2 separate regions of the Homo sapiens genome follow, and region 2 is linked to region 1. Evidence: promoter capture Hi-C in 16 types of primary human blood cells and fetal thymus (Javierre and others, 2016). All regions are on one chromosome and are shown on one strand. Each heading gives the region's core, a stretch centred on a gene start or on the middle of the fragment in contact. The rest is flanking DNA. Distances are from core to core; before and after follow the strand shown.

Region 1 (4,066 bases), core at 1,013-3,512:
AAAAGGGAGATTTATTTGGGGGGGTGGGGGGGTTCTGTTAAAAAAAAAAAAAAGCACCGATGTCAGAAACATGCTTCATCTTATTAGAAACATAATCTGAAATGTATGAGATTAGGTTGTCAAAATTAAGAAAGTGCTGGAATTTCATTGAGTGTGCTAAAAATGTAATTTAAGAATTCTTGTAAGGAAGATGATGGAGGAAAGTGTAGCTAACAAAGTTAAATATCTGCAACTCCATTACATAATTACTCTCCTTTTGTTTATGTCTGAAATTTAAAAAGTAGATATAAAAAATTTTTTAAAGTAGATATAGTGTAATCACTTTTTAAAATAGCCTTCTTATTGACTATTTATATAAGATGACCAGCAGAAGAGAGAGAAAGGCAACTTAAAAAATAATAATAACTCACTGGCATGGCTATCCTTTTTTATTCATTATCAGAAAATTAATTTGATTTAGTCTTTTTAAATAGCCAGTCACCATTCACGAAATAAATCAACAGAAGTGTGTACTGGAATTATTTACTTGCTTGTTTCTGCCACCACACTGGAATGTCATGAAAATAGGAGCTCTGTCTTTGTCATCAATATGGCTCGTCACCTAGCACATTGCCTTAAGAATATTGATATAAATGGAATGACTTACTCTCTGAACCAAAGCTACATCATCTTCAACAAAATTTTTGCAAAATTACAATCTTCAATTCCAAAGGCAGGAAAATAAAATGATCACACTTCCACTGTCAACATCATTTACTAAGTTGACCACAGTTTGAAGAGCCCTATAGGAGATACTATGGGATGACACAAAAAGAACACAAAAAAGGAAAACATTTTAGATAGAAGTGGTAAAAGTTTTCAGATTATAAAATATTACCATGCTAATATATATTTCACAATGAAATGTATTCATTATATAGCAAAAACGTTAAAATACTTGTTATTGATTAGAATAGAGATCAGTCTCTGTTAGAAACCTTTAAAAGGTGTACAAACACTTTGTAAGAGATGACTCCTGTCCCATCCTGCTCAGGGATGACCAGAACTTTCATCTTAGATAGATACACCACCAGGTTTCATCAGGGACACCTTAATTATTTTAGCTGTCTAGGTAAACCAATCTCCCGATGGGAGGATATGGAGTAGGGCGAAGAGTTATATTTTGGAAAACAATCCATGGGAAATTAAGTCAAGTAGCCAAAGGTTTAATTTGGAAATGCAAATATCCATCAATTAGGTTTTCAATTATGTGGACAATAAAAGAGTTGAGCAGAGCAGTAGAGACAAACAAAATTAAAAAGAGAAAAGGCAGAGAAGGCAGGGAGGGGCTTATTTTCACACATTATACCAATTTACATTACACATCATATTAAATTTAAGTAAGGCGCTTTTCTTCATCCAAATAATTTCACCCATTTTAAACCATAAAATACTGTCGGCGAAATCTCATCTGGGCCATTTGATGTAATCTTTCTGCGTCCCTTTCAGGAAGGAAGGTGCGACAACACAATGAAGACAGCCTGTTGCTTTCCTTGGTATGTTTACAGCAGGAATCGGGCAGCGACTTAACTAGACATAAGTTTCCCCTTCTTCCCATGGGTCTATTTGCCAAAGCCCCCTGCACCTATTAGAATTTTCTGAGGTTGGGCTGGTGGAGAGCAGAAACCCGGAGGCTAGATTCAGGAGACCTGGTTTCCCATGCCACTTAGTAGCCTGTGACATTGAGCACAATACTTACTTTTCGGCGCTTCCGTTTCATTATTTGGGAAATGGGAACAATATATCTGTTTTATAAGATTGTTGTGAAGATGAAACAGGCCTGTGTGTGAAAGGCCTTTTCTAAATTGTAAAGCGCTCCCCAGATGTTAGTTATTATCTCCTTTAAAGGGCACAGAATCTGTTTCAATATTATAGGAGGTTGCAAAAAGGCTCCTTGACACTTTTTGCTCAGAACTTGACCCTGAGCTTAATCTCGCCGTAAAGTGAAAGGGTTCTTGCGCCCCCACAGCAGCCCGGGGCAGGGTCACCCTCGCGACCGGGGCGGTCATTGCCGTATTCCGTCCTGAGCTGCCGCTCCCCCACGATCCTCCCACCAATCCCGGGAGGGCCGCGACGTCCCTTGCCGCTTGGGTGGCGCCAGCTAGAGGGCGCGGGCCGGGGCGGAACCCGGTACCGCAGCTCGGGAGGTGGGGGTGGGGGCGGGGCCTCGCGCGGAGGGCGTGGCCTCGGGGCGTCCCGGGCAGCCGGCGTGCTGAGCTTGCCAGCCAGCTAGCGAGCGACGGGCGCGCGCGGCCCCTGCGCACTCGGCCGCCGCCTGCGCGCGTTGCGGCCGCAGCTGCACCTTTGCCTCCGCGGTTCCGCAGCCGAGCCCCGGGAGGAGGCGCTCCCCTGCGTCGTCCGCACTTGCGCCCTTTCCCACCGCAACAGGTCAGGGGAGGGCGGAGGTGACGAGGGCGCCCGACCCGGGACTAGAGGACGGAAGGGTCTGGAAGGTGAGCGCAGCCCTGCGCCACCCAGGGCTGGGGGTCGATCCGCCCGGCCCCCGACGCCGCCGCCGCGGACTTCTCGGAAGCCGAGGCTCTCCCCGCCTCTCTGCCGGCTTCCCAGCACGCTGACTCAAGTCGCTGGCGTTCCCACTTTTCCGGTGGGAGCCCTCGGGGAGAACGGGCTAGGGCTCAGAGCTCTCACCGCCCTACTTGCGATCCCGCGGCAGGTAGCGCGTAGAAAAACAGGGGACGGGGACATGGGAAGAGACCCATGCTCCTCCCTCACGCGCAGCCCCCAAGTCAGACGTTTGCCTGTGCACCCCGCGTTTTGCGGAGAGCTGTCCCGTTGTTGGGACCTGCTACTTGAGTTGCGTAATGAGTCCCAGAAGTTTCTCGGGGGGAGGGGGCGGGGAAAAGTGGGGTTCTTCTCTCCTGCACCCCGGGACCCTTCCCTGTGCCTGTCGTGGAGAGAGATGAGGGCTTCCCGCCGCGTCTCGCTGAGAGCAGGAGGGAGGCGTGTGTCGGTGGTCCGTAGCCTCCGGGGAGGAGTTGGAGCCACCTTCTGAGACTTAACTTCAGGGACAGAGGGAGAGGCGTCTTTAGTATGGGACTGGTTAATTTCTCTTGATAATGCTTTTTTCCCTCGGGTGTCCCATCCTCTGTGGCCGTCGCAACCCCACCCTCCGACGGTGCGAGCGCCGGAGCCAGCGAATGAGAGGGGAGAGAAGGTGGAGAGTGTGAATCACACGTTACCTTAGTGTAATGGTAGTTGCATTAATGGAGCTGCGACGGGCCTGCGGGCGGTTCGATACCGTCCGGCTAGTTTTCTCTTCCCGGAGCTTCTCCACCACCAGCACCCGCAAATTGTTATGCAGATCATCCCGGGAAGGCACTTGGCTTTGGAGGTGGAGATGTGTCCGAATCTCCCTTGAACCAGTCTCTGTTAGGGGGAAAGGCCTTGCAGCCAAGTGATTTGTTTTAAGGGTGGAGCCGGAGATAATTTTAAACACCCTCCCCCTTGGTGCACGTTGCGGGGTGTGACTCACCACGGGGAAATCAGACTGATTTAAAACCTTCAGTGCAAACTTGTAAATTAAGGCGAAGACCCAGTGTTCCCTGGGACAGTTGCAAAGTGAGAAGAGCTCAGAAACTGAAGCACAGAAACGTTAGGTAGGAGTCTGAGAGGCGTGGAGAATTTTGCTTGTGCAAGATTATTTCAGAGCAAGGTCGTGCGGTGTGTGTAGAAGGTAGGTGGCCGTGGGTTACCTCTCTCAGACCTGCGTGGTGTTGGCCTCTGGGTGGGGATAAAAGTCACGAAAAAGACCTTTGGACCCAGAGTCTAGTTTTTTTTCTTTGGGGCCGAAGAATACCTAGGCATGGCCCTGTTTCAGTGTTTACTTCCTCTGTCTAATGTATTTCCTTAGCTCGCCTTTCATCTTTAGTGGGAAGGATTACTTGAGTGGATATTCCGGAAGTAGATTCACAGGAGAATGGAAAATTCTGGATGGTTTGCTTGCTTTAATTTCAAGGTGTTGTCTCTTGTGGATGTTGGGAAGTATTGTACTTGAATATTTGAAGAT
Region 2 (4,066 bases), core at 895-3,394, 1.7 Mb after region 1:
GGTCAGATAGCCAGGTTGACTGATCAGGGTCCCTGTTTTCTCTGGAGAGTGGTGCAGACACATTGGGAAGTCTGGCCTTTTGGTTATCTACTTTCTAAGCTCCTTACTATACAGCACAGCATAGTGTCTCTTTCTTTTCCTTTACTTCATCTTTTTTTTGTTAGTTTCACTTTCTTCATCTGTAAATTAGAGATAATGGCAGTACCTGTCTCATAGAAGATGAAATGAGCCAACATCTGTGAAGCACATAGAAAAGTACCAGACTCAGAGTAAGCTCAAATCAGGTCTTATCTGCTGTTATTATTAATAATGTCATTATTAATATTATCAGTCAGGAGTTTCTTTTTATTGCAAGTGAAAGAAACCTGATTCAAACAAGCATAAATAAATAAGCTTAAGTAAACAAAGAAGGGACTTGTTATACTCTGTATATAGTTAGGTTCTGTAAAGTCATGGTGAATACCATATTAGTGAATACAGAGCCATTGTTTCTGAGGAAATACAGGATTAGGTTCTTGTAGGCTGTGGTCAAGAGATTTTTATCAGCCAGCTGACGCATAACCTTTTTTTATGTGTGTTTCTGTCTAGACAGCCTATTTAATATATATTTCTTACTAATATACACAATATTTCTTGGTAATAAAACACTAGTTGAGAAGGGTTTAACATTTTCTTGACCCTGTGTAATGTGACAGTGTTTTTGGCTTTCAGCCTCACATCAGTGCTATCCACTGTGATTTTTATTTTTTATGGGTTGTCATCTCATGAATCCACAGATTTAATTGCTTTTCCATTGTATCTATAGCTTCATTATGTACTCTGGATATTACTTTAGCTCTCTCCAGGGGAGGCCTCACATACAGATCAGCAGATTTCCTGTTCCATATTTTGGATGTACCCGCTTGTTGATTCATTAACATTGAACTCACAGCCAACACTATAACTCATGCATGAAAGAAACTTACCTAATACACATTTTTTTCTCTGTAAGGCACATCACAACCTTCTTGCACCTAAGAACACTAGAAGGTAGGAGAGATAAGACAAATTTATGAAATACTAAAAACGAAAAAATCCATTAATGTGGATAATAGCAATTGAGCAAGTTGGGAAAAATAAATTATTTCTAGATTATGTGAGCTTGCTGGTCTATTAGTGTATCATTAGACCACCAACCACCACCACCACTACCCTGCCAGTTTTTCATTTTATTTCTACTTCCCTCTCCACAATATTTGTAGTTAATTCAAAGAATAACATTTAATCTTAATACTTTTTTAGTGTAGAGTCTAGACAAGGAATAAAAATCTTGGGAAGAAGCAGAACTTTCTGTGTAAGACAGCAAATTGAGATTCAGTTTTATATTTTATTTTGGGCCTTTTCATGCCTTTCCTGAAAGCCTCAAGAGTTCAAAGCATACCTCAGGATTACAATAAGGCAGTTTTAAAATTGGTATATACCAATTAAGGCCATTGAGTTAAATCCAAAGTACTGTAATTGTTGTCAAGAGAGGTTGAAAGTACGAGCTTCCTCTGTGTTGTAATCTTTAATTTGTAGCCATTTGGGCATGCTTTTATCTTGGGAGAAAAGAGTTTGTCATTTTAAAAGCTGACTTTGCATAGAAGAGCCAATTAGCTGTCTCCTTCATATGTTGACAGTTCTCTCCTGTAGATTGGCTGATATATTCAGCTTTGATGTGTTCGCCTAGTATTATAATTCAAAGTAAGTCTTCACCATTTCTGTTAGAATCCATCCTCTTTTCATTAGGATGAAATGAATGTACCAATGAAAAGATTAGGGAAGACACCTTTGAAGTCTGCAATCTTGTCTTGAAATCCTGATATTTTGACCTGTAGGACCTAGAACAGTGATTCTTAATATGGAGAGACTAGCATGTTTAAGAAGTATGATTAGAAAAGGATATTCAGGGGCCGGGCGCGGTGGCTTACGCCTGTAATCCCAGCACTTTGGGAGGCCGAGGCGGGCGGATCACGAGGTCAGGAGATCGAGACCATCCCGGCTAAAACGGTGAAACCCCGTCTCTACTAAAAATACAAAAAATTAGCCGGGCGTAGTGGCGGGCGCCTGTAGTCCCAGCTACTTGGGAGGCTGAGGCAGGAGAATGGCGTGAACCCGGGAGGCGGAGCTTGCAGTGAGCCGAGATCCCGCCACTGCACTCCAGCCTGGGCGACAGAGCGAGACTCCGTCTCAAAAAAAAAAAAAAAAAAGAAAAGGATATTCAGAATTATAATTAAAATGTATATTTGGAAACCGGCTGGGCTCCGTGGCTCACACCTGTGATCCAAGCACTTTGGGAGGCCAAGGCGGGCTAATTACTTGAGGTCAGGAGTTCAAGACCAGCCTGCCCAACATGGCGAAACCCTGTCTCTACTAAAATACCAAAAAAATAGTGGGGTGTGGTGGCACACGCCTGTAATCCCAGCTACTTGAGAGACTGAGGCAGGAGAATTACTTGAACCTGTGAGGCGTAGGTTGCAGTGAGCTGAGATTGCGCCACTGCACTCCAGCCTGGGAGACAGAGCGAGACTTGGTCTCCAAAAAAAAAAAAAAAAAAAAAAAAGTATGTTTGGAAACTGAAATGTAATCTGAATGTCCTTAAGACCAATCTTCTGCATTGCTTGTTTGTTTTTAAGATGGGTCTCGCTCTATTACCCAGGCTGGAGTGCAGCAGTGCGATCACAGCTCACTGAAACCTTGACCTCCTAGGCTCAAACGATCCTCTCACCCCAGCACCCCAAGTAGCTGGGACTACAGGTGTGTCCTACCACACTTGGCTGATTTTATTTTATTTTTTGTGGAGATAAGGTCTCACTGTGTTGCCCAGGCTGGTCTCAAACTCCTGGGCTTAAGCTGTCCTCTCACCTTGGCCTCCCAAAGTGTTAGGATCACAGGTGTGAGCCACTGTGCCTGGTCACTGTTTTCTTTCATATCCAGATAAAGTGATTCAAACCCAAGGCGATGCTGATTAGAGATTTAGCGTCTTTCTCAAATTTCTAAGAATTTCCGAAGGGAAGAAGAATGTTTAGGTTCTCTTATCATGCCTCATCCAAAACTCTTGCTCAGTTGTCAGTCTTCAGGAGGGGCTCTGAGGGCTTATTTTCAAGGTTCTTTTTATTCATGCTTGGCAAAATACAGTTATTGTAAGGGTGTTGTGTCTTAACTTTGATAGAAGGTTTGGGATTCTCAAAAGTAGTTACAGAACAGGCAACAAGTTCAAACTTGAGTGTTAGACACCACTGTTCTCAAAATTCATCTGCTGTTCTCTGCCACGGAGAATCTACTGTTTACTGGCCAGGTTCCAAACTTGCAGCCATATTACAGGCTTCAATCGCTTTCTCTTTTTTTTTTTTTTTTTTTTGAGGTGGAGTTTTGCTCTTGTTGCCCAGGCTGGAGTGCAGTGGCGCCATCTTGGCTCACTGCAACCTCTGCCTCCTGGGTTCAAGCGATTCTTGTGCCTCAGCCTCCCGAGTAGCTGGGATTATGGGCACCCGCCACCACGCCCCACTAATTTTTGTATTTTTAGTAGAGATGCGGTTTCACCATGTTGGTCAGGCTGGTCTCGAACTCCTTCCTCAGGTGATCCATCTGCCTCAGCCTCCCAAAGTGCTGGGATTACAGGTGTGAGCCACCATGCCCGGCCAATCGCTCTCTCTTAATTTGCTATCTTAAATAGGAGCATCTACTGTTTTATAAGGCATGCTTGGGATTTCCCCCGTCTCCTTTCGTCTCTAAATCTTGGACCTTTCTTTCAAAACCAGAGAGGTGCATGGGGTATTTTCCTTGACAGAAGATCCACCCACTTAAGATTTCCAACTTTATCAATAGTCAGAACTTTTGAAGTTATAATATTTCATTTCTGATCAAAGCATTAGATAAAGCTTCCCCTCTTATGTCTTTGTAAGCAAAAATAATATATTGAAATAATTGATACCTTTCCCATATTAAACTCTAGGGGTTGTTCCCTCCTCCTTTCTGTTGTAGAAAAAATACTTTTGTGCCTATTATGTTGGTAATAACAATTCTCACAATTAAACTCAAGAAAGCC

The links. The method cuts DNA at HindIII sites, captures the fragments that hold promoters and counts their contacts. A CHiCAGO score of 5 or more calls a contact.
Region 2: a contact is called between a fragment that was not itself captured here and the fragment with the promoter of AFF1 in region 1, in 1 of 17 cell types (non-activated CD4 T cells). The highest score is 7.2, in non-activated CD4 T cells.

Annotation. Positions count from the first base shown.
Region 1 is chr4:86,932,749-86,936,814 of GRCh38, forward strand. It overlaps AFF1 (ALF transcription elongation factor 1), which reads left to right and starts at 2,263. Exons shown (of 21, transcript NM_001166693.3): 1 at 2,263-2,492. AFF1-AS1 (AFF1 antisense RNA 1) reads right to left here and starts at 2,102. Exons shown (of 3, transcript NR_038841.1): 1 at 1,739-2,102; 2 at 647-794. It also overlaps a transcript of C4orf36 not described here. RefSeq lists silencers at 1,968-2,717, 3,188-3,326 and enhancers at 2,639-3,180, 3,181-3,722, 3,578-3,697. The HindIII fragment of the contact is 7,488 bases long and covers 1-4,066 here.
Region 2 is chr4:88,599,846-88,603,911 of GRCh38, forward strand. All of the region lies in intron 2 of HERC3 (HECT and RLD domain containing E3 ubiquitin protein ligase 3), which reads left to right. Among named protein-coding and RNA genes, the nearest start is that of HERC3, 9.4 kb to the left of the region's middle. RefSeq lists an enhancer at 1,266-1,956. The HindIII fragment of the contact is 3,506 bases long and covers 392-3,897 here.